Linked DNA regions of Homo sapiens: regions 1, 2, 3, 4, 6 and 7 are each linked to region 5. Evidence: promoter capture Hi-C in 16 types of primary human blood cells and fetal thymus (Javierre and others, 2016). All regions are on one chromosome and are shown on one strand. The core of a region is centred on a gene start or on the middle of the fragment in contact, and the rest is flanking DNA. Distances in the headings are between cores, read along the strand shown. Region 1 overlaps ATF6 (activating transcription factor 6). Region 2 overlaps ATF6 (activating transcription factor 6). Region 3 holds the start of DUSP12 (dual specificity phosphatase 12). Region 4 overlaps LOC127814295 (a long non-coding RNA gene). Region 5 holds the start of UHMK1 (U2AF homology motif kinase 1). Region 6 holds the start of ATF6 (activating transcription factor 6). Region 7 overlaps ATF6 (activating transcription factor 6).

Region 1 (3,617 bases), core at 628-3,127, 700 kb before region 5:
TACATGGGTCAACCTGTCTGAAAGCATAATGCTTTTTTTTTCTTAAACAAATTATAAATTTACATGATATTTTAGTTGCCAGTTATTTTAGTACCTTCATTTTGTTAGATAGGCTCAAGCAGCTGTGGATGTTAGGCAAGGCTTTCAGCACCTTATAAAAATCTGCCAGATCTGAAAGGAAACACTTAGCAGGCAAGTAAAATTTTTAATAGATTAGTGTTATGAGTTGTATAAGTCTTTAGGTTAATGGTACAGGTTTAGTACCCCTTAAATGAAATGCTTGGAACCAGAAGTGTTTCAGATTTTGGGTACTTTTGGATTTTAGAATATTTGCATATACATAATGAGATATCTTGGGGACAGAACCCAAGTCTAACATGAAATTCATTTATGTTTCATGTATATCTCATACACATAGCCTGAAGGTAATTTTATATAATATTTTAAATAATTCTCTGCATGAAACCAAGTTTGCATACAGTGAACCATCAGAAAGCACAGTTGTCACTATCTCCTGTGGACAATCTGTAGTTGTTTGGCACCACCATCATTCCTGGCTCTGAATTCATATGCTACTGACAAGCAATCATTTTCTTACACTTATTCACAAATTCACACCTAAGAACTTAACAAAAATTATGACATACCATTAATACAGTGAAAAAATAATGTGTGCAGAGTAACAAGGCAGGACAGTAGAATCACCAGAATACCAGTGTCAGCTACTACACAACAGCAACAACAAAAAATGGCAGCTTTCAGTCTCTGCCTTTGATGCTGTTTTCATTAAAAGCCTACTGTACCCTCTATTTTATGTCTTCAGGTGAGAAGAAACATCAGAAGCAGTTGAGAGACTGGAAGTGGGTCCTCTAGGGATGAGGAGGCATTCTGCTGGATGACTTCTAAAAATGTTTTCTATGGAGTCATCTGCCTCATTAACAAGTTTTTGTTTTAGAAGTCTCTTTTTGATTTTGTAAACTGACATGATTTCTTTTTCTGTTATGACTGTATGCTGCTTTAGTCCTTCACTAGGCCCATCACACATTTTTACCATGTCATCTATAGGCACTTTTTCTGCAGCGTTAACAGCATCATCTTCATTGTCATTATTATAGATTGAGTATCCCTTATCCAAAATACTTAGGACCAGAAGTGTGGAGTTTTCCACTTGTGAAGTTGTGTCAGCACTCAAAAAGTTTTGGATTTTGGAGCATTTTGGATTTTGGGTTTTTGGATTAAGGATGTTCAACCTCTAATAATTCTCGTCAGATTAGCATAAATTTAAAATAATGATACCTCTGAATACTCAGAAAAGAATTGAAGGCCATTTTTGGGGGAAGAGGGAAAGGGCTGGTATCATCTACAGACTATTTTGAATCACAGATTTATGTTTACCGTGATTGTTAGCTAAGATTTAATCTCAAATGGTTTTAAGTTTTTTGGTATTTGTAGTCTTTTTTTTTTTTTTTTTTTTTTTGTCCTTTTTAGGGATCTGCCTGCCTCAGCCTCCTGAGTAGCTAAGACTCGAGGCACATACCACCATACCTGGCTAATTTTTAAATTTTTTTTTGTAGAGACAGGCTATCACTATGTTGCCTTGGCTGGTCTCAAACTGCTGGCCTCCCAAAGCACTGGGATTACAGGTGTAAGCCACAGTGCATGGCCTGTAGCTCCTTCTTCTTCTAATATTGAGTTACTAAGTTTATGTTCAGATATTTTTGGTATTGTATGCATTTGTAAATCCTATTAATTTAGAATACATGACTCTCCATATTCAGTGTAAAAGATTTGTTATTTATAATAAGACAAATCCTTTTAGCACTAATAAATTTCAGAGGTTAATTCTTAGAAATCTAGGGATTACAGCAAATTTGATAGCTGTTTAGTTGAGAAAGATAAATAAGAAAGTATATTAAAGTATATTGTTAATGATAACTCAAAGAGATGAATTTAGTTGGTCACATTAAAAACATAACAAAGTCACCATAAGCGTGTGCTGCTATTGATCCAATGTTTTAATTGATGGTGTCCAATCCCTTGGTGTTGATCTTACCCATTACGTCTGCAGAAAAGACCTAATTATAAGCTGCTTCCCCTGCCACAGTAGTTGTGTACCCTTTGATTCCTTTTCTTTTTTCTAACGCAGGCCAGACGGTTTTGCTGTCTCAGCCTACTGTGGTACAACTTCAAGCACCTGGAGTTCTGCCCTCTGCTCAGCCAGTCCTTGCTGTTGCTGGGGGAGTCACACAGCTCCCTAATCACGTGGTGAATGTGGTACCAGCCCCTTCAGCGAATAGCCCAGTGAATGGAAAACTTTCCGTGACTAAACCTGTCCTACAAAGTACCATGAGAAATGTCGGTTCAGATGTAAGTTTTGAAACTTAGTGCTTCTCTTAATGCCTGATTTAAAAACCAACAAAAAAACACCTTTTGCTTTTGTTGCCTTGTTTTTGTTTTTTTTAGAGTTTCTTATATTGCATCAAATAAAAGAGTGTGCTGAATTGCACATCTAGTCTTTGGAGGAAAATTAGGGTAAGGCTTACTACGTTAGAATCTAAGTGAAAAGGTTTTTGAAAGTGAAGTGGTTTGATGAAAAGCAAAGTATGCATACCTCCCTCTTCTTTACTCCTTCTTTAGAACCAACCCTCTTATTATTCTCTTCAAGCCCTTACACCCTCAACCCAGTCATCCACTAATATTTTACAGATTCAACGTTTCCTGATTGAAATGTTTTAGCGATCTTCAGATAAGAGTCTATAGATTACTTTTTAGGTAGGTTTTATATTTAGCTTTCTTCCTTGCCGTTTTGAAGTATTTTCACCACTTCATAATGATGACTAGCTACTCTTAGGAATTCTGTCTCTTAGTGATTATTTGGTACTTTCCCATTTTTGCAAACCTTTAAATTTTCTAGCATGTTGTAGGGATTTCTTATAATTTATAAATCACATAGTTTCCTAAGACCTGTCACTCTCTAAAGCCAGTTACTGCACTTGCCAACTAACTCTTGCTTTCTTTCAAAATGATTGGAAATAACTTATGTATTAAATTGAACATCTTGGTCCTAAAATTTAATGAATGTTAAAGCTATATAGTCAAACAGTGGATTCTCTAAAGTTACGATTGGGAAAGCAAAGTGTGTATGTTTTCTTTAAAATAAAAATGGATACTACTAGTTGTTAATATTACTACTTCATCCTTTCTTTAGGTAGAATGCATTTGAAAAGTAATTTTAAAATCCTGTGGGTTATGCAAGGTTGTTTATCAGACTACTGTCTGATCTGTCTGCCAGAATTTATTAACCAGCATGTCAGTGACCCATTTAATTATAAAATTGCTCCACAGTTGCATAAACAGTAATCTCAGCCAGCAATATTGTAAAAATTCATAACAAAGGAATATTGTCTGGTGAAAGTAGAACATCCAGTTTCTAGAATAAGAGTCCCATCGTTTGTATAGGTATTGAAAACAATGCATGTCAAGACATGGAATAGGAAAATTAGTGTTGCTATGAGACTAGAGACCATGGACAGTACAGGATTAGGCTTGACTGTTATGTTGGTTTGTTTTGAGGACTAGAAGAGGTAAGCACAATGCTTATGGCATAATAGGCTCTA
Region 2 (3,519 bases), core at 261-2,760, 590 kb before region 5:
TGATGAGTTATTTCATATAGTAAGTTTGTTGAATGAATGGTGAAACAATGAACACAGGAACAAGAAAAGAAAGCAAAATGCATCAAACTTAGGTTTAGTTTTATCTCCAGTTTAACCATGCTCCCTTAAATGGAAATGCTAATATACTTCTTTTTTTCTTTTTTCTGTAACAGTTCATATGTTTTTGCTAGGAAGAAGAGGAGTTACTGAAAACAGTAGTTAATATCAAAGTCATAAGTCATTTATAATCAGCCTTAGAATGCCTACAGATGTATATACATTTTTCAAAACACTTATACTCTGCCTTTTCTGAAGCCAAGCTTCTCTTGGCTTATTCTTACTTTTAGTACTTGTGTGCTGGAAATTAGAAACCTCAGATGCCCTGCACAGTGTAGGACTATACAATTGTGCTAGGCATGTATTTATAATTCTTTAACTCTTCTACCAAACTGTGTGCTTTTTAAGGGCAAAAACTGTACAACTTCTTTAGCATGCACCTGTCACTTGCAAATAAATGTCTAATTCTGTGGTCCCTTCAAAGGGAGAAGAGGAGGCTAAGCAGGCAAGGCTCTAGGCCTTGGCCCTGCTTCAGTCAGAATCTTTCTTGTACATGTTGATAATTTCTTTCTTCTACAGATAGAAAATTCCTGGGATAAGAATTTTGATGGGAAAAAGAGTTTATTGCCTTTAAAAAAAAAGTTTGAGAATGACTGTTTAGGGGAGATACTCTCAGTATCTTGTGACATTATCTAGTCTAGCCCCCATCATTTTACAGGACTGGAAACTGAAACACAGAAAGGATACGTAGTCTTGTCCAGATTATACAGCTATTTAGTGGCAGAATTAGAATTAAAATCCCTTGTCTTGACTGCTTGACCAGTATTCTTTATAGTGGTGCTACAGCATATGTGTTGTAAAAACCTAGGAGTTTTCCAAGATCACTGCATAGTGCCTGACAACGGTAGACACTCTGTAAATGTGTATTACATTAATGAATGAATGATTCTAAGCTGGTTTGTAGTTAATTAAGCCAACTTCAAATAAAAACTATAATTTTTCATCATCCCAACGAAATATTGACCTCTTAGAAGCCCTGAATTTGGCCTGTTCTAGGACTAAGCCAATTGTTATATATAACAGATTGTTCTTTGTTAATTTTAGGATCACCTGCTGTTACCAGCTACCACCCATAACAAGACCACAAGACCAAAAATGTCAATTGTGTTACCAGCAATAAACATAAATGGTAAGTTGAAATTCTGATGTATGAACAATATGAGATTTCTTTGTTTAACCAGGATTCTCTTCATTAGTTCAAAGACATTTAAAATGTTCAGTTAAATGAGTATATATCCGTACATTATTTCTGAAACATTTTTCCACTGTTTTATTATTTTTAAGATCCATTATTCTTTTAAAAAAAATTACTACATCCCTAAAAGAAAAAGTAGCTTTCTTTTACTTACAAAATTGGAAAAGCTAGCATCTTGACTGCTCTACAGACTTGCATCTGCGACCCTTCTAGTCATAAATGTAGTGTAAGAAGCCCCTGCTGTGTTCTGACAGTGAATTTGTAAATTAGATTTTTGGAACTCAAAGCAGTTTCCTGTGTTACCTAAATGTTGATATCATCCTAGACCATGCCACAGAAGCCTGTTTATGTTTAATTGATAATACTGATGAGTTTGACACTGATAGTATTACTATTGCATTTTGTTATATTACTAGCCCTGGACATTAAACAAAATACAAATAATAATATAATGCACAGATGTTAAGGCATAATATACCTGCTTATAGTTTAGAAGAAAAAAAAAGACAAGCACAAAAATCACTGTACTCCAAAGAGAAAGTCACGTAAGTAATATGTGAGGTACTAAGAAATCTAGTGAAAAGAGATTACTTTCAGCTTGATTCTTCATGGAGAAGTGAAATAACTCACTCCCATTACCAGTTGTGGATTATAAATGAGCACAGTGTATGTTATTGACTAATTGCTTTCTCTGACACATTATATTGAAAATCGGAGAGTTGGCCATCTTTTTCAAGTTTGTGTATCTCACATAATGTAGGTACTAGTAAATTTTCTGTCTGGTAGCAAAAACCTCAGTATATGAAGAAGATGGAAACGAAAAGCCCTTTGAACTAACCTGCAGTCGAACCAGTTCACATTTTGATTGATAAATATAATTAAACCTTCAAATACAATTATAAAACAAAACACTAGAATTTTGGGGGGATTCCAGATAAGTTTCAATAAAATTTAGTCTTTAGGGGAAAAGTGGTATTCATCATACATTTTAAGACCATAGAGGACCTTAGAATTTCATGATCTGTATATAGACAGCTTATTAGAAATGCTTAGGAAGTAACTTCATAGACATAAACATAAATGGGCTTTTTGTTAAAGCATAAAAATTACAATATTTACTTAGCCTTACAAAGACATTCAGAATAAGTTTAAGAAAAACAGTAACATTGAGAAGAACATCTCTTTCTTCAGTAAAGACATACCTTTGAAGTTACTCATGGAATAATCATTTACTACCTGAAGAAGAATATATTCCAAAGTGCATTTTATTACATTCCAAAGAATGTATTTAGGAAGTCTCACTTATACTCAATCTATAGGTACCTAAGTTTCTCTGCCTAAACTAGAATAGACCAAAGGGTCAGCTTATGCTCAGAAAGGCTATTTTCTAAGCTTTATCAAGGCAGAATTCACTTAATTTTGTTCTTCTGATATTGGGTTCTTATGCAAGAGAATGCCTGGTCTTATTTTGTAACAGTGAGCTATCTTTATATTAAGCCAAAACCAACAAGATGCTGTTTGACTATGTTTATCTTGGCCAGGTGACTGATTTTTGAAGAGGAGCCTTTCATGGATTTGGAAAAATCCAGTCATTAGAGGATCATTGTCTTTTTAATCTGTTTCAGACTCTTTGTAAATAGTCTTTTTAAAAACTTCCCTTTTTAGGATAAGTCCTATTAAAAAATCAAAATTCAAATTCAAGAAATATTGATTGAATATATACCGTGTTTCAAGTACCATGCTACATCCTCAGCCTTTTCTCTTAACAGTCTTGCTCTGAGGATACTTCTTAAATTAGAGCCTGATTTTTTCCCCTTCCTCATGTACCTCAAAGTCTGCAGCAGGGCAGGTGGTATCCTTGCTTCCCACTACAACTTTCAAATTATTTCTCCTTCAGTCCCCTTAACATCTTGCAAATCTGTCACATCACACTTTACTCCTCTAACCCTTATTTGTTGCTGCCGTCTACTCCACCTTCACTGACGACTCCTCCACTGCCTCTGTCATCCTGCTGTCTAACTTCAGCATCCGCATAGAGGAGTCATTAGTACTCTAGCCTTTTTTGATCCAGTCATCTTTTATTCCGCGCCACCTCAGCCTCCCATCCATATGGTCATAATCTAGACCTTATCATCATCAACAGCAGCACTCTCTTTGAAATCTCCTTTTCAGGCATCCCACTCTCTGACTGTTACTTACTCTCTTAC
Region 3 (3,229 bases), core at 649-3,148, 750 kb before region 5:
TTGAGATCCCACTTTCAATTCTTTTGGCTATATAACCTAGAAGTGAGATTGCTGGATCATGTGGTAATTCTATTTTTAATCGTTTGAGGAAACTCCGTACTGTTTTCCCTGGTGGGTGCACCATTTTACATTCCCTTCAGCAATGCATAAGCGTTCCAATTTTTCCACATCCTTGCTAACACTTATTTTCTGTGCTTGAAAAAAATACTAGCCATCCTAATGGGTGTAAGATGATATTATTATTGTAGTTTTGATTTGCATTTCTCTAATGATTAGCAATTTGAGCATCTTTTCCTATGCTTTTTGGCCTCTTGTATATCTTCTTTGGAGGAATGTCTATTCAGGTCGTTTGCCCAGTTTTTTGAAAATTGGGTTACTTGTTTTTCTGTTGTCGAGTTGTAGGAGTTTTTTATATGTTCTGCATATTAACGTATCAGATATATGCTTTGCAATTATTTTTTCCCATTCCATACAAATTCCTTTTCTCTCTATTGACTGTTTTGCTTGATATGCAGACACTTTAAAATTTGATATAGTCCCATTTGTCTATTTTCGCTTTTGTTGCCTGTGCTTTTGGTATTTTATCCAAAAAATTGAGGGAGAAGAAAAGGAAAAATCAGTTAGGTAGACAGCTAAGGCTAGCCCTTGGAGAAGCAGTCTGCCTGAAAAATCACAGCTACAAACAAAATAGAGCAGCTTAGGCAAAACTCAGGCTGCACCTGCACAGATAAGCAGGTAGGGTCCAGCACAGACGCTTTTCATTCTTCGTGTAATTGGCGAGCTCCCAGGAAAAACTTTCCTCCCCTTTTCAGGTATATACACAGTGGACTCCGTGGGAACTTGCACAGGAAGGAGGGGGGCTTACCTAAAACAAACCTACAGTGATACAAACAAGAGAACCCACGCTTTGTGCTTGCCTAGAGACATACCCACATCGGCAGAAGATAAGGGAAGTTGCACAGACAGATTTATTCATAAGAGAAGTTACTCAAACAACTATAGAGATGAGAGGAGTTTCTTATAATAGGTTTTGAATTCAGCTGTAAAAATGGCACCCCACTTGGGCTCCCCTCTCTGCTGTGGAGAGCTTTCTTCTTTTGCTTATTAAACTTTTGCTTCAACCTCACTCTTTGTGCCCATGCTCCTTAGTTTTCTCGGTCGTTAGACAAGTTCGGATAACACCTTAGACAATGAGACCATTAACCCTTACCTGTTTCAACATTTTTATCAAATCCAAGGCCATGAAGCTTTCCCCCTATGTTTTCTACTAAGAATGTTATATTTTTAGGTCTTTAATCTATTTGGAGTTATTTTTTGTGTATGGTCCAAGGTAAAGGTCCATCTTCATTCTTTTGCATGTGGATATCTAGTTTTTCCCAACACTGTTGAGGAGATTGTCCTTTTTCCATTGTGTGGTCTTGGCACTCTTTTTGAAGATTATTCTAACATATATGCAGTGTTGCAGGTGATTAGCAGCTTTCTGGGCTGGTGACATGGGTGGTAGGAAGAATTTACCAACACAGTTGTAGGTAAAGAAAGGCAGGTTTATTAGATAAAGTATGAAAATACATTGCAAGGGTGCAACAGGCAGGTCAGCAAGAGAGAAGCTGACTGCTAGGAAACAAAGGCTTGCTGGGGATTTTGTAGAATGGTGCTTATGTTGTGGGTGGAAGAGGGCTTTGTGCAGTACTAATAATGCCAGGGTTGCAGTGAACTAACTTCCATTTTTCTATCAGCTGAGGGTCTGGTGATGGCTGGGCACAGGCAGATTGTGAGTTATTTGCACAGCAGGGCTATGTGTCCTGGACCACGAAGAAAGGCAGACTTATGGCTTGTCTGCTTTCTCCTTTTGCTTCCCTTCGTCCAGCCAGCCTGACTCCTTTTCCCTAATTAGGACTCCACACGCAAGGGTTTGTTCTGTTCCAGAATAGAGACACGTCGATGTATCTATCTTTATACCAGTACTATAGCTGCTACTTCTTGACCAATTACAGCTTTAGTATCTCTCTCACCTGTCCTCCCTATACAAAAGATATATAAAATATACTCACTGTACTGAGTATCTTCCTGCAGCATTCAGTCTGGAGCAAAGCCTGCTTCCTTCAACCCTTTCCAAAATCCCCAAATAAAAGCCCAAAATCTGTAGAGGATCTTCCTAACATCCTCGTGCTGAGATGCCCTGAAATTCTCCATAACTCATGACTGAGTAATAAAACCAACTTGCTTAATTAAAGTTGGTTTCTTGTAGTCCTGGCCGGAGGACATTGACTTACAAAAATATAGGATTAGTATCTTCAAAATAAATAGACAGTAAACATCAACAAGGATTCACACCCCAATAATGAAATTGGGCAGAAAAAGGAAAAATAATCATGAAATGCACAGTAAAGATGGCTCCATAATATTGAAAAAAATTTTACTTCAAATGCATAAAATGATGCTTCTGATTCAGCTGGTGCGACATTTATTTCACATTTGAGTTCAGCTGCTCCTGATGTCTCTTTCCTGAAAATTTCAATACTAAGAGCTCGAGAAACCCTGTATTTGGGGAAGCTTATCCTTCACCATCAACTTTGGGGGTAGGGGTCAGAGGGAACAAGGGTGGAAAGGCCGCGCTGAATGGGGCCGAAGCTCCGCCCCTCAGCGATAAGTCCAGATTCCTGCGGCCGACGTGGTCCTCCGAGGGAGCAGCAGAGCCGCCGAGGCTGGCGAGTCCCAGGGGAAGGATGTTCTAGCCGGAGTCTACTCGATGGTAGGGCAGGAAGCCGCCTTGTCTCTGGGCGCGGCCATGTTGGAGGCTCCGGGCCCGAGTGATGGCTGCGAGCTCAGCAACCCCAGCGCCAGCAGAGTCAGCTGTGCCGGGCAGATGCTGGAAGTGCAGCCAGGATTGTATTTCGGTGGGGCCGCGGCCGTCGCGGAGCCAGATCACCTGAGGGAAGCGGGCATCACGGCCGTGCTAACAGTGGACTCGGAGGAGCCCAGCTTCAAGGCGGGGCCTGGGGTCGAGGATCTATGGCGCCTCTTCGTGCCAGCGCTGGACAAACCCGAGACGGACCTACTCAGCCATCTGGACCGGTGCGTGGCCTTCATCGGTCAGGCCCGCGCTGAGGGCCGTGCGGTGTTGGTGCACTGGTGAGTGGCCGGGTCAGTGGGTGACGTGCCCCGCCAAGCTTCCAGCCGGCCCCCGTCGCCCCTTACCTTCCGAGGCCGTCGGGAGGACAAGAGCGCG
Region 4 (3,536 bases), core at 524-3,023, 810 kb after region 5:
CTTGTATATTCACTACATGCACAGCTTTAGAATTCACAAACACTGTCAGTCCTGGGTAAATGAGGATAATCCTCTATGTGCTGTTGACTGAAACCTTACCTTCCTCTGTGAGAGACCCGAAGTGTCACCAATTCAGTTAACTTTCTCCTTTTTCCCTCTGAAGATATCCAGACAGTGCTTTTTAAGCGCTCTGTTTCTAAGAAAAATAAAATGAATCGCATGTACTCAGCATGTTGCACTCAAAGAGCATTGGTAATATAAAAATAAGTAATTAGTACTCAGTTTTCAAAGGAGGTAAAAATCCAGGAATTGCATTTTGTTCTGAGGCAAGCTGGTATATTTGCCCTGGTTTGAGCCATCAGGCTATTTATATAGATCCTGCCCAGGAAGGCCTCTGGCTCATGATGCTGTGAGCCATGTTTTATGGGTTGAATTGTGTCCTCTAAAAGAGATATGTTGAAATCCCAATCCCAAATACTTCAGAATGTGACCTTATTTGTAAATAGGGTCTTTGTAAAGGAAATCAAGTTAAACTGAGGTCATTAGGTTGGGTCTTACTCTAATATAATATGACCAATGTCCTTATTAAAAAAAGGAAATTTGGACACAAAAATACACACAAGAATGCCATGTGAAGATAAAGGATATTGGGGTGATAAATCTACAAGCCAAGGAATGCCAAAGATTGCCAGCAAACCACCAGAAGCCAGGGAGAGGCATGAAACCGATTCATCCTCACAGCCCTCAGAAGGCATCAACCTTGCTGATATCTTAATCTAGTACTTCTAGGCTCCAGGACTGTGAGACAATGAATTTCTGTTGTTTAAGCTACCTAGTTGGTGATACTTGTTATGGCAGCCCTAGCAAACTGATGCATTATACCTTAATTCTAATCTCCTAATTTCTGAATTATATATATTCTGAATATATAAAAAGGGCTCCCCTCCCACTTGGGAACAACTCCTATAAGAGGTGAGGGCTGAAACAGAGGGAAGACCTACTGAGATTCTGATATGGGATAAGGTTCCTCAAAGCATGGTTTTCCTGCCCTTAGATCTCTAGCTGCTATCTCTCTCTACCACATCCCTCTTCTAAGTCAAAGAGATGACAATGTCAAGTAAAAATTGATTCTAGTAGATCCTCTACTTATTTTCTTCTCTGAAATGAAATAATTTTCTTCCACATAAATCTAGGGGTCTACATTGCCAAGTGGTAAAATAGTTGGAGAACTTAACAATGTCTTCTCAATTTTATGTGTGACATGAAAGTGAGAACTTTTTTTTTTAACAGAAAGGAAATATCAAATCATGTAGAAAAAGTCCCTCATTTTACTAAGCAGGAATCAATACCCAAAAGATTTCTAGTCCATTAATCCTTCCACTGGGTCCCATGCCGGTTAAGGATGGGAGACAGAGAAGCGTGCGGATTAGGAAAGTACTGTACTTCTGCAACTTAATGGCAAGTGAGATAACTTTGGCTTTAAGAGTAATAAAAAAAAAAGGAGCTTTAGTAACACATGATTGGTTCAGTGATGAGATCTGCGGCCAAAAGCAATGTCTAGTACATGAATCAGAAATTCTTGATACTACTCATCACTGAAGTACAACGGAATTTCAAAGGAAAGAAAAGAAGTAAATTAATATTTATTGACCACCTTCATTGTAACACTACTTAATATCCATTATCTCATTTAAACTTCACCACAGCAGCCTTATTAGTAACCATATTTTATAGAAGAATAAACTGAGACTTAAAGATGTTTAGAAACCTTATCCAGAAAATAATGAGCAGTAACTGGCAGAAATGAGATAGAAACTTACATCTGTATCAGCCTGCTAGGATAGCAGTTGTTCTTAACTCCATGAACAATCTGCATCCTAATCACTTGCAGAACTACTTTAAAGTGTGAGTTTAAAGTTCCTAAACCCAGAGATCCTGATTCAGTTGGTCTGTGGGTGGGGTCCAAAAATTTGAGTTTCAAACAAGTTCAGTATCACATTTAATTTTTACACAAGTCAGCAGTGTGCTACATTTAAAAAAGTTATTCTTTGAAAATGATTCTCAAGTGAATCTTAATCTTTTACATATTAGTTCAGATTAGTCACTATACCATAGAAACTGTGCCATTCTAAAATAGAATGAAAATAACCCCTCCCCATTTCAGTGTTTACCAGCATATTGTGTGACACAATAAGTAATAAGTTCCAACTATGAGATTATTTGAATAAGTACAAGGAAAAGTTAGACACTGACACAGGATGGACAATGTTGTACTTTGACAAATAGAAACATTTAAAAATTATCATCTATTATAATCATCTAGAAAAAGAGATAACACAAAAAATATAGGAAAGGCATAATATTAAACTGTTTTATAAGCCAAATAAATTTAGTTTTATAAAAAACTTACTTCACTGTCCTTATTTTTCTCATTTAAATTAACAAAACTTCATCAGGAACCAAAACAGGTCAATGGATTGAGCCATGCCAATAGTTCACTGTCATGAGAATAAAAAGTCCAAATAAGACTCAGTCTTTGACTTTAAAGGTATTGCAATTTAATTGAGATAATCAAATTTACCTGCATGAAATGACTCAAAACCAATATAAAATAGTACATAATTATGTACAGGCATACCTCAGAGATATTGCAGGTTCAGTTCCACACCACTGCAATAAAGTGAGTATCACAATAAAGGGAATGACACAAATTTTTTGGTTTCTCAGTGCATATAAAGAGTTATGTTTACACTATAGTCTGTTAAATGTACAAAAATATTATGTCTAAAAATACACAAATCCTAAGTTAAAAATACTTTATTGCTAAAAAATGCTAATGCTCATATGAGTCTTTAGTGAGTCATCATCTTTTTGCTTATAGAGGGTCTTGCCTTGGTATTGATGACTACTGACTGATCAGGGTGATGACTGATAGGCTGGGTGTAGTGGTTCATGCCTGTAATCCCAGCACTTTGGGAGGCTGAGGCAGGAGGATCACTTGAGCTGGGGAGATAGAGGTTACAGTGAACTATGGTAGTGCCACTGCACTCCCACTTGGGTGACAGAAAAAAAAGCGGGGGTGGTGGTTGCTGAAGGTTTAGGTGGCTGCAGCAATTTCCTAAAATAAGACAACAAATGAAGTTGGCCACATCAGTTGACTTTTCCTTTCATGAAAGATTTCTCTGTAGAATGTGATGGTGTTTGATAGCATTGTACCCATAGAACTTCTTACAAAATTGGAGTCAGTACTCTCAAACCCTGCCACTGCTTTATCAACAAAGTTTTGTAATATTCTAAATCCTTTGCTGTCATTTCAACAATGTTTAGAGAATCTTTACCAGCAATAGATTCCATCTAAGGAAACCTTTTTTTTTTTCTTATCCAAAAGAAACAACTCGTCATCCATTCAAGTTTTATTATAATATTGCAGCAATTTAGTCACATCTTCAGGTGCCACTTCTAATTCTAGTTCTCTTGCTATTTCCATCACATCTTCAGGTGCTTCCTCCACTAAAGTCATGAAGTCATTCATAAGG
Region 5 (3,243 bases), core at 691-3,190:
CTTCTTTACTGCAATCTGTTTTATCAGCAAGGTCTTTGTGACCTGTATCTTGTGTTGACCTCCTATCTCATCCTGTGACTTAGAATACCTAACTTCCTGGAAATGCAGCCCAGTAGATCTGAGCCTTATTTTACCCAGCTCCTATTCAAGATGGAGTTGCTCTGGTTTGAACACCTCTGACAATCTGATGAGATTTTATGGTTTGTAGGCTGTGACTCCTCACATCCCTTAGATAAGAATTTGGGGCCAGGTGCAGTGGCTCACGCTTGTAATCCCAGCACTTTGGGAAGGTGAGGCAGGCGGATCACAAGGGCAGGAGTTCGAGACCAGCCTGACCAACATGGAGAAACTTCATCTCTACTAAAAATACAAAATTAGCTGGCATGGTGGCAAATTCCTGTAATTCCAGCTACTTGGGAGGCTGAGGCAGGAGAATCGCTGGACCCCAGGAGGAGGAGGTTGCGGTGGGCGGAGATGCCGAGATCATGCCATTGCACCCCAGCCTGGGCAACAAGAGCGAAACTCCGTCTTACCAAAAAAAAAAAAAAAAAAAAAAAAAATTGAGCAAGAGAGAAGACAGGTCAGAGTTTAGTCCTCAACCTCTCCTCAAACTTTCCACTTAGCACTACATGAACCATCTCATCTGGCTGGGAACTTACACAAAACCTGAAGAAAAGAAGATAGGGCCTATTGTCTGATACTAAGTTTTTGCCACACAATCAGAATAGATCTTGAAATAGAAAAGGTTGAATGACTGAAAAGTAAAGAAGGCTACATTTCTTACACACTCGAGTTTGTGGATTGAGATGCCTATTTGCTACATTTGTTACTCAATAAACGTTTGCTGAATGAATAAAATAATTGAATAAATAAATGAAAAATAAAAATTTGGAACAGATCCGTGTTTGCCCAGGGTGAATGCTTTTTGATGAGGGAGCCATAGGCAAGGTGGACTATGTTGATAAAAAGAGTTAAACTCTGTAAAATATTTGAAGAGATTTATTCTGAGCCAACTATGAGTGACCATGGTCTGTGACACAGCCCTCAGGAGATCCTGAGAACATGTACCCAAGGTGGTTGGGGTGCAGCTTGGTTTTATACATTTTGGGAGACATGAGACTTCAATCAAATATATTTAAGAAATACATTGATTTGGCCCAGAAAGGTGGGAAAACTCGAAGCGGGAATTGGTGGGGGGAGAAATGGGTCCTTCCAGGTTATAGGTAGATTTAAAATTTTTCTAATTGGCAATTGGTTGAAAGAGTTATCAATAGAAAGGAATGTCTGGGTTGTCATAAGAACTTGTGGAGACCAAAGTTTTGTCATGCAGATGAAGCCTCCAGGTACCAGGCTTCCAAGAAAATAGATTGTAAATGTTTCTTACCAGACCGAAGGTCTGTGTTGACCTTAACCGGAGAGGTATGAGGCTAGTCGGACCCCCACTTCCCGTCATGGACTGAACCAGAATTTTAGAGTGCCCTGGCCTGGGAGAAAGTCCATTCCGATGGTTGGCGACACGGGGGGCTTAGAATTGTATTTTCGGTTTACATCTAAAAGAAGAACAAAGGTCTAGGCTTCCAGAATCATGGGTTCTGGTGACCGTGGACCTGGAGGTGATGGTAAACTCTCTTTTTGTTCCTGGGGTGTTTTCCTTGGGATCCTTTCTATGAGAAATGTAGGCCGGGTTTTATTTTTCGGGTTCCTAGTGGTGAGGTAAGGTGAGGTGCCTCAACAAGAAAAAGGACCAGTTTTGGCTTCAGGTCTATGTGAAAGCGGTTAACACTGGGCCTGGAATGGTAGATACTCAATAATTAAGGTTACTTCTTATTCTCGGTTCTTTTTTCCAAACCTAGCGCGTCTAATCTCTTCTAGGCCCCGCCCCTTCTGAGCCCCCCCTCCTTCGGCCTGTATGATAGGCTCTTCCTCCATTTCCGGCTTCTGGGACTCGGGTGCACCACGGCTTCCGGTGTCATGGCTGCTTGAAGTCCCGGGAGTCGGTGAGGCGGCTGCAGGTCCCTCCCTGCGGAGCCGCTGGTCCGGCTGGCGGAGATGTGACCGCGGGCCCGGCCGGCCTGCCTCAGGCGTCGCGTCAGCTCCCGTGTCCGTGCCCTTAACCCACACCGATGGCGGGATCCGGCTGCGCCTGGGGCGCGGAGCCGCCGCGTTTTCTGGAGGCCTTCGGGCGGCTGTGGCAGGTACAGAGCCGTCTGGGTAGCGGCTCCTCCGCCTCGGTGTATCGGGTTCGCTGCTGCGGCAACCCTGGCTCGCCCCCCGGCGCCCTCAAGCAGTTCTTGCCGCCAGGAACCACCGGGGCTGCGGCCTCTGCCGCCGAGTATGGTTTCCGCAAAGAGAGGGCGGCGCTGGAACAGTTGCAGGGTCACAGAAACATCGGTAATTGCCGCTGTCTCCTTTCTCTTCTTGCCCAGGTCACAGTCCGAGCACACTCTTCCTCTCGCTGTCTGGCGTTCCATCTTCCTCCCCTTCTGCGGGAGAAGCGGGTTTAGCCCTCTTTATCACCCCATCCAGGCCCCTTTCCCCTTTCACTTTATTACTGTCTGCGGTATAGTGGAGTTGGTGGTCTGCTTTGCCAGGTGTCACATAGATGCTCAGTAAATTGTCTTGCTTCGAGTCTCATCGGAGAATGCCGCATTCATTAGCATACAGAAATATCTTTTCTAGTGAGAGGAGGCATGTCTTTGCTAGATTGTCGTGTCTTGTGTGGAAATTTTTGAATCTTTGCATACCAGTAGAAAATGGGAACTACGTCTGGGCCTTGTGACATCAATGCTAGTAACTCGTATAGCTCACCTATTATATCTTTAGTACGGATTTGGAAGAAATGATGCACTATTCCATGGGAGCCTTTATAGAAGTGTGAAATTTAGGAACACTATACCTTTGCTCTCTTGAGACTGTTTCAAGAATCAGATACTCAGAATGTAAGATATGTAATGATCACTGATGATTGATCTGTGAAAAGGTTTCATTTTCATTACACGACAGAAAGCTTATCATTAGTTATAGCTTTGGTTATTAAAGAAAAGTCTTATTTCCTAGCAAGTATGATGCATAGTTAATTTGAAGAGTGAGTTTTTTTATAATATCATTTTGGAGAAGAATTAACACTAGTGCTACATTTTTTTAGTTTACTAAATGGTCTGTTACTATAACCTTGGTATTGAAAAGGGAAAAATTTTGCAAGCCTAGGGACTTGCCTGATCTCTGCAAGATTAAAATTTCATC
Region 6 (3,253 bases), core at 130-2,629, 730 kb before region 5:
GATCTCCGCTCGCTGCAACCTCTGCCTCCCGCGTTCATGCGATTCTCCTGCCTCAGCCTCCCGAGTAGCTGGGATTACAGCTACTTGCCCGCCACCACGCCTGGCTAACTTTTTGTATTTTTAGTGGAGACAGGGTTTCACTATGTTGGCCAGGCTGGTCTCGAACTCCTGACCTCGTGATCCGCCCGCCTCGGCCTCCCAAAGTGCTGGGATTACAGGCGTGAGCCACCGCGCCCGGCCTTATTTTAGTTTTTTATGTCAATTTTTGAATTTGTAATTGGGTGAGAATTAAAGTGTTATAAATTTCACCTTAAGTGAAAATTTATTAGTTTTCTAATGACAAAAGTAGTTACATCTGACGTAAGGGGATTTAATTATCTTTTTCTGGGCTTGCGTCCCGGAACGCTGCTGCATTATGTAATCTGTAGTAATATACCCACGAGCAGTTTGGAGGGTTCTGGGAAGCACATTTGTTTTGCTTACCTACCATGGGAAAGATTCCACGTGGTCCTAGAAGCATACGTATTCGTCGGTTACAGTATTTTAAATATTCACTGGCCGCTGAAATTTAAAATGGATGAAAAAGAAATTCTCTTAAGTAGCGTTCTTGAAACTGCTTTATCAAACTCAGTTCATATTTTCAGTTGGAGTTCGTGATGTATGTGATTTTCCTTTAAATAAAACCCGAATCTTTAGTAATACAAATATTGGGAACTTCGATTACTGTAGGTCTTAGGGTAGACTCGCTTGGACTTTGACTAAATACTATGCTTTAGAAATTTATCTTTAGGAGATAAATTTGGGGGGTTTATCTTTTTATATTTGCTTTGTTTCAATTTATTTAAATAAAAGTAGTCTTTCTAGAAGTATGTTTTATAGTACCACTTACCTCGGTTACTGTCCCAGTTAAGCAGTTTTCACGAATGTGGAAAAATAGTAGTGTTTTTCTTTCATACACGCGTATATGAAAAATTTTTACATTGATAGAGAATTATTCGTAAAAATTAAAGTAAATTTACTGTTAGTCTCTAATTTTGTTCTGAGATAGCCACGCTGTGGCATTAAGAAGGATAATCAAGGAATAAGCCATAATGTTCAGAAAGGGGCTTTACTTTTTATTTTTAATATTATTGATAAACTTTGTTTAGTCGAATTGATGTCTGCGTGTCTTCCCCCGCCTTCCCCATAAAACAGCGGGACAGAAAGTCCTGAAAACTCCAAAAGGGAAATATTTACTCAGAGGTCTATTCAAATTTGCTTAGTCTCTGACGTTTTCCTGTGTCGTACAAATCCCTCGTGCGGCAAAAGTAGTTTGTCTTTACTAGGCCACCGTCTCGTCAGCGTTACGGAGTATTTTGTCCGCCTGCCGCCGCCGTCCCAGATATTAATCACGGAGTTCCAGGGAGAAGGAACTTGTGAAATGGGGGAGCCGGCTGGGGTTGCCGGCACCATGGAGTCACCTTTTAGCCCGGGACTCTTTCACAGGCTGGATGAAGATTGGGGTGAGTGGGATCTGAGAATGTACCAGGGTGGCTCGGGTTCGCGTCTAAAGGTTTCTTCCTCCCTACTTCCGCCCACTCGTGGTGACAGGTGTGGACCAACCCTGCCTGGGGAGTGAGGCCCCTCGTCACTCCTGTTCGTGCCCCTGGAAGAGTCTGGGAGTATCGTTCGGCTTCTGTCCTGGCCACAGGGAGAGTAGAATATTGTCTAACTGGAGTTAACTGTCGTTTTTCACTATTCCCACTGGGGAAGTACCGGGTGATCTTTTTGTGTGGCTAACACTGGACGTCTTTAGGAGGTTTAGAGCAAAATGGCTGGGACCGCCAAAAAGGCTACAAGCTATTTCCTGAGTGTGAAATGTGGGCGGTGAGCACAATGGAGTGGGTTTTTGTGTGTTTGGTGTATATGAGAGAATGTGGTTATATACAAGAAATTCTAATCTTACAGCTTTTACTATTGGTTTAAGCCTGATGTCCGTCTTGGCAGAAAAGCAAAACACCCAAGCACCTGACCTCGGGTCCCTGCTTAGCTACACCTAATACTTATGGTGTAATCCTGACTGCTCTCCAGATACAGCTCTTAATTTTCTTGTTAATGGATATTTTGTTTGGTTTTGGTGGTCAGGAAGGGTGGAATGGGATGAAGTGGAAATGAGAATGAAGAAACTTTGTTATCTAAGTATTTAGAGGAGACTTTTATTCTCCTCTTGATTGCAAGATATAATAGTAATATTGTTCTTAGGTTCCAATATGAATTTGGGATTGTGTAGGTTCCCAAATGGGCCCGCTAGTGAGCCTACACCACTCATCAGCCTTGGAACTGGGGGGAACCCAGTTTATCTTTCTCCCTTGGATCAGCATTCTCAATAGCAGGAGTGGAAGGAATCTCAACTTTTTATTGAACAAAGTCATTTAATTGTTTCAAGGACAGATGTTCTCTAAAACTATATTCTATTGGAGATTTATTTTAATCCTTGGGTAGATTTTTTAAGAGTTGCTGGAAAACTTAAGATTTTTTATTCCCATTTTCCCAAGCCAAATGCATTAGTGACAGTAACCATTTATTTAGCTCTTTGTGTCAGGGACCCTGTTAAACTCTTGACATGAAGTATTTTGTTTAATCCTACCAACAGTCCAATGAGGTACTGTTTATTTTAGAGATGAGGAAACTGAGGCTAACAGAATTTGTGCTCAGATTCTTAGAGCTAGTTAGTGGCAGAAGAAGGATCAGACCAGGTTTTTCTACCTCCAAAGTCTGTACCCCTAGCATCTATTCTATAATGCTTTCCTAACTCATGTCTACAGATTTTATTCTTCCTAAGATCCCTGGTTATTAATAAGACTACTTGAATATATTGGGTAGTTATGATTTATTTTGTCAGCTAGTCAGCTATTATATTTTCATGACATTTCTTTTCTTTACCTCTTTTTTTGAGATGGAGTTTCGCTTTTGTTGCCCAGGCTAGAGTGTAATGGCGCAATCTTGGCTCACCGCAACCTCCGCCACTCGGGTTTGAGCGATTCTCCTGCCTCAGCCTCCCGAGTAGCTGGGATTACAGGCATGCACCACCACGCCCGGCTAATTTTGTATTTTTAGTAGAGACGAGGTTTCTCCATGTTGGTTAGGCTGGTCTGGAGCTCTGGACCTCAGGTGATCCGCCCACCTCGGCCTCCCAAAGTGCTGGGATTACGGGTGTGAGCCACTGTGCCCGGCCAGTGACATTTCTTAAAGTATAACTGTGGGACACTTCCTG
Region 7 (3,444 bases), core at 396-2,895, 710 kb before region 5:
AACATTTTTTATGAGTTTGAATTGTATTGTCAAAAATGCTTTCCAAAATATTTCCTGTTTCTTATTTTTTTAAATTTTTTGGGAAGCTATAATATTTTGCATATGGTAAAATATTCAAAAGGTACAAAAATCTGTATAGTAGAAAAATGTCTCCTGCTTTTATTCCTCAGCCAACAAGTTCTATTTTCCAGAGACAACCACTGTTACCAGTTTCTTCTGTTTACCCTTCCAGAGAATTAGTGCAGATGCAAGTGTACACATATATATACACACACACACAGACATACATATATACCCCCTCCCCACATATATATATAATTTGTAACACAAGTGGAAACATACTAGATATATTGTTTTCTGCATCTTTCATTTTCACTCGTTATATTTTGGTGACCTTAGCTTCCATATCTGATTGAATTTTAAAAGTAGATTTTACCTTCTTTCTTGTTCATTTTATTATAAGTTTTTATTGTCCAGTGGGTAAAACCTTTCCTCCATGTTTTCCAGTTAAAGATATTAAGGCAGAACCTCAGCCACTTTCTCCAGCCTCCTCAAGTTATTCAGTCTCGTCTCCTCGGTCAGTGGACTCTTATTCTTCAACTCAGCATGTTCCTGTGAGTAGCCAGTCTTTTACAATGATTTTGGTTATAATATGCTATCTGGAAAATATGTATATGGAGGAGGCAGTTAACATTTATTGAATACTACTATGAGTTATATTGTCTCATTTATTGAGGGAACTGAGACTCAAGAAAGAGCCTTGTGGGAGCTAGAAAGTTGTTAGTGCCTTTGGTTTTGCTCTCTTTTCCCCTCTGTTCATGCCTCCATAATTTCATTGTTTCATTTGTTTCATTGCATTTTAACAGTATCCAGTATTTGTTTATTGGCTTACTGTCCTTTCTCCCACCCTTTCTTTCTCCTCCCTATTAGGATATACATTCTTTATATATGGACATAGAAGAATGTAAGATGGTCAGTTTTTATATCTCTTTAGTCACAGCATCTAGAATGATTGCCTTAGTTTGGGAATGCCTAGTGCTACCTTTTGAAGGGGCTCACGTTTTTATAGAAGTCTGGTAGCTCTTTTAAGAACACTTCTGCTCTGTGTCCAGACAAAAGCCCTGAGGCCAGGAAAAGGAAGTACCTGATTTAGGTACTTTTTAGAATGGGGAAAGGGAAAGTATAAGAATAAAAAAATCAAATAATATTTTAGTATATTATATGTGCTATAAATTGTGGTATCTTTGTTCCTGCAGGCTCTACATTTAGTTACTAAATCCTGGTGGTTATATGCACATATTAATTCAAGGATTTATCTTTTCTGCCCCTGCCAGGCCATCACTATCTCACCTGGATTAAGTCAATAGGATTTTAACTGGTCAGCCTTACAACTCCTCAAACCTTTCTTAGCAGTGGAATCTTCAAAGAGAAATCTTTCAGTGTCACAAGCTTTACTGTATCAGTCATTTGCTTAAAACTTTTTAGTAACTTCCCAGTCCTTACAAGGATGAAATTTAAATTCCCAGAGTACTAGGCTTTCCATGATCTGGCCCCCATTTACTTTTCCAGTCTCTTTTCTTGCTATCCCCTCCTACTTCCACATTCCCCTTAATTTGAGCCCTGTGAGAGTTCCTCTCTGAGAGCTCCTATGCACTCTACTCATTCAACCGCTGTGCCAGGCACTGTTCCAGATGCTGGCAGTGAACAACAGCAGTGAGATTGCTGCTGTTACAGTTCTAGGTTTTTGCACATCCTCTTTCTTCTGCCTAGAATAGCCCCATTTTTTTCTTGTCTTGGAAAACTCATCCTTCAAGTCCCAGTTCAAAAACTACTTCCTTTATGAAGCTTTTCTCTGATTGCTGCTATTGGTAGCTCTCTGAGGTCCCACAATTTCTCCAAATGATTTAATTTTTTAAAAAATTAATAATTACAAAAGGTAGCATACTGTATACCCTGTCCTGTACCTTGTTTTTTTAGCTTAGCAGGATAACTCTTAATTTCAGAGTATATAATTTTCCCATTATGCTACATAATGTTTCATTGCATGGCCTTATCATGCTTAATTTAGTGATTTCCTTATTGATGAGTATTTGTGTTGTTTTTAGTCTTTTCCAGACCCAATTAACCTGTACATAAGTCTTTTCCAGACTCAAATAACCTATAGTAAATAACCTGGTACATAAGTCACTTTATATTTTTACCAGGATATTTTTGGGATATATTTCAAGAGGTGGGATTGTTGACACCAAGGTAAATACACTTGAATTTTGCTAGATACTGCCAAATTTCTCTCTATAGGGGTTGTAAAATTTTACATCCTCATCAGCAGTATGTAAGAGGGCCTGTTTTCCCATCATCACTCCACAATAGGTTTTGTTTTATATCTCTTTTATTATAAGTATGGTTAAATAATATCTATTCATATGTTTTATATGTTTAAGGCCTATTTGCATTTCTTTTTAAAAAATGAACTGTCATTTCAAATTTTTGTTCTTTTTTTTTTTTTGGAGATGAACTCTCTCTCTTGTCTACCAGGCTGGGGTGCAATGGCATGATCTCGGCTCACTGCAACCTCCGCCTCCTGGCTTCAAGCAATTCTCCTGCCTCCTCAGCCTCCCGAGTACCTGGGATTACAGGGATTACAGGCACCTGCCACCACACCCGGCTAATTTTTGTATTTTTAGTAGAGACAGGGTTTCACCATGTTGGCCAGGCTGGTCTCGAACTTCTGACCTCAGGTTATCCACCTGCCTCGGCCCCCCAAAGTGCTTGGGATTACAGGTGTGAGACACTGCGCCCGGCCGTTCATTTTTTAATTGAATTGTATTGGTCTTTTTCTCTTTAATATTTTAGGTGCTTTATTATATATTAGGATTATTAGTCCTTAGTTTGTGAAATAAGCTGCAAATATTTTTTCCCCAATTTTTCTTTTGTCTCTTTGCTTTATTTCTGGTGTTTATTTTTCCCCAGGTGTACTGTTTTCTATAGCCAAATTATTGATCTTTTCTTTAATTGCTTTTTTGTTCACTCAAAGGAAGGTTTTCACCACTGAGAGGTTATAAAATAATTCACTCATATTTTTACTCTTTTTTTTTGCTTATGTTAATTTTTTGTTTGGAACAATCTCAAATTCACAGAAGTGTTGTGAGTACCTTGCAAATAACTTGTTTTTTCCTTATGCATTTCAGAGTAAGTTACCAGTCCGATGCCCCTATCACTCCAATACTTTAGTGTCTACTTCCTACAAGCACAGATATTTCTTAGCCATAATACAAGCACAAAATCGGGAAATAAACATTAATATGTTACTATAATCTAACCTTCAGCTCTCGTTTAAATTGTGCCAGACATCCCAGAGGTGTCCTTTAGACTATCAAAAGGACCCAGTTCAGAATCAAGCATTGCATGTGGTTATCTTGTCTTTTTAATCTTGTTCAGTATGAA

The links. The method cuts DNA at HindIII sites, captures the fragments that hold promoters and counts their contacts. A CHiCAGO score of 5 or more calls a contact.
Region 1: a fragment that was not itself captured here is called in contact with the fragment with the promoter of UHMK1 in region 5 in 1 of 17 cell types (M1 macrophages); the score reaches 5.5 in M1 macrophages.
Region 2: a contact is called between a fragment that was not itself captured here and the fragment with the promoter of UHMK1 in region 5, in 2 of 17 cell types (M1 macrophages and naive CD8 T cells). The highest score is 6.5, in M1 macrophages.
Region 3: a contact is called between a fragment that was not itself captured here and the fragment with the promoter of UHMK1 in region 5, in 5 of 17 cell types (fetal thymus, non-activated CD4 T cells, naive CD4 T cells and 2 more). The highest score is 9.6, in fetal thymus.
Region 4: a contact is called between a fragment that was not itself captured here and the fragment with the promoter of UHMK1 in region 5, in 1 of 17 cell types (naive CD8 T cells). The highest score is 5.7, in naive CD8 T cells.
Region 6: the fragment with the promoter of ATF6 here is called in contact with the fragment with the promoter of UHMK1 in region 5 in 4 of 17 cell types (non-activated CD4 T cells, naive CD4 T cells, total CD4 T cells and 1 more); the score reaches 6.9 in non-activated CD4 T cells.
Region 7: a fragment that was not itself captured here is called in contact with the fragment with the promoter of UHMK1 in region 5 in 1 of 17 cell types (M1 macrophages); the score reaches 6.4 in M1 macrophages.

What each region holds. Positions count from the first base shown.
Region 1 is chr1:161,799,906-161,803,522 of GRCh38, forward strand. It overlaps ATF6 (activating transcription factor 6), which reads left to right. Exons shown (of 16, transcript NM_007348.4): 7 at 2,147-2,367. Among named protein-coding and RNA genes, the nearest start is that of ATF6, 35 kb to the left of the region's middle. The HindIII fragment of the contact is 3,864 bases long and covers 1-3,617 here.
Region 2 is chr1:161,911,135-161,914,653 of GRCh38, forward strand. ATF6 (activating transcription factor 6) reads left to right here. Exons shown (of 16, transcript NM_007348.4): 15 at 1,162-1,246. Among named protein-coding and RNA genes, the nearest start is that of OLFML2B, 110 kb to the right of the region's middle. The HindIII fragment of the contact is 2,384 bases long and covers 319-2,702 here.
Region 3 is chr1:161,747,014-161,750,242 of GRCh38, forward strand. It overlaps DUSP12 (dual specificity phosphatase 12), which reads left to right and starts at 2,773. Exons shown (of 6, transcript NM_007240.3): 1 at 2,773-3,132. The coding sequence starts at 2,789. RefSeq lists enhancers at 771-850, 951-1,000, 2,572-3,081, 3,143-3,229. The HindIII fragment of the contact is 1,306 bases long and covers 1,246-2,551 here.
Region 4 is chr1:163,306,134-163,309,669 of GRCh38, forward strand. LOC127814295 (a long non-coding RNA gene) reads right to left here. Exons shown (of 5, transcript NR_182654.1): 3 at 100-196. It also overlaps a transcript of RGS5 not described here. Among named protein-coding and RNA genes, the nearest start is that of NUF2, 14 kb to the right of the region's middle. The HindIII fragment of the contact is 4,687 bases long and covers 1-3,536 here.
Region 5 is chr1:162,495,878-162,499,120 of GRCh38, forward strand. UHMK1 (U2AF homology motif kinase 1) reads left to right here and starts at 1,941. Exons shown (of 8, transcript NM_175866.5): 1 at 1,941-2,391. The coding sequence starts at 2,124. RefSeq lists enhancers at 1,677-2,177, 1,912-1,991, 2,178-2,678. The HindIII fragment of the contact is 6,861 bases long and covers 1-3,005 here.
Region 6 is chr1:161,764,941-161,768,193 of GRCh38, forward strand. ATF6 (activating transcription factor 6) reads left to right here and starts at 1,380. Exons shown (of 16, transcript NM_007348.4): 1 at 1,380-1,502. The coding sequence starts at 1,421. It overlaps ATF6-DT (ATF6 divergent transcript), which reads right to left and starts at 1,207. Exons shown (of 3, transcript NR_187280.1): 1 at 890-1,207; 2 at 484-561. LOC124904444 (a long non-coding RNA gene) reads left to right here and starts at 1,509. Exons shown (of 2, transcript XR_007066695.1): 1 at 1,509-1,866. RefSeq lists enhancers at 1,198-1,277, 1,308-1,387. The HindIII fragment of the contact is 8,902 bases long and covers 1-3,253 here.
Region 7 is chr1:161,783,483-161,786,926 of GRCh38, forward strand. It overlaps ATF6 (activating transcription factor 6), which reads left to right. Exons shown (of 16, transcript NM_007348.4): 4 at 508-614. Among named protein-coding and RNA genes, the nearest start is that of ATF6, 19 kb to the left of the region's middle. The HindIII fragment of the contact is 396 bases long and covers 1,448-1,843 here.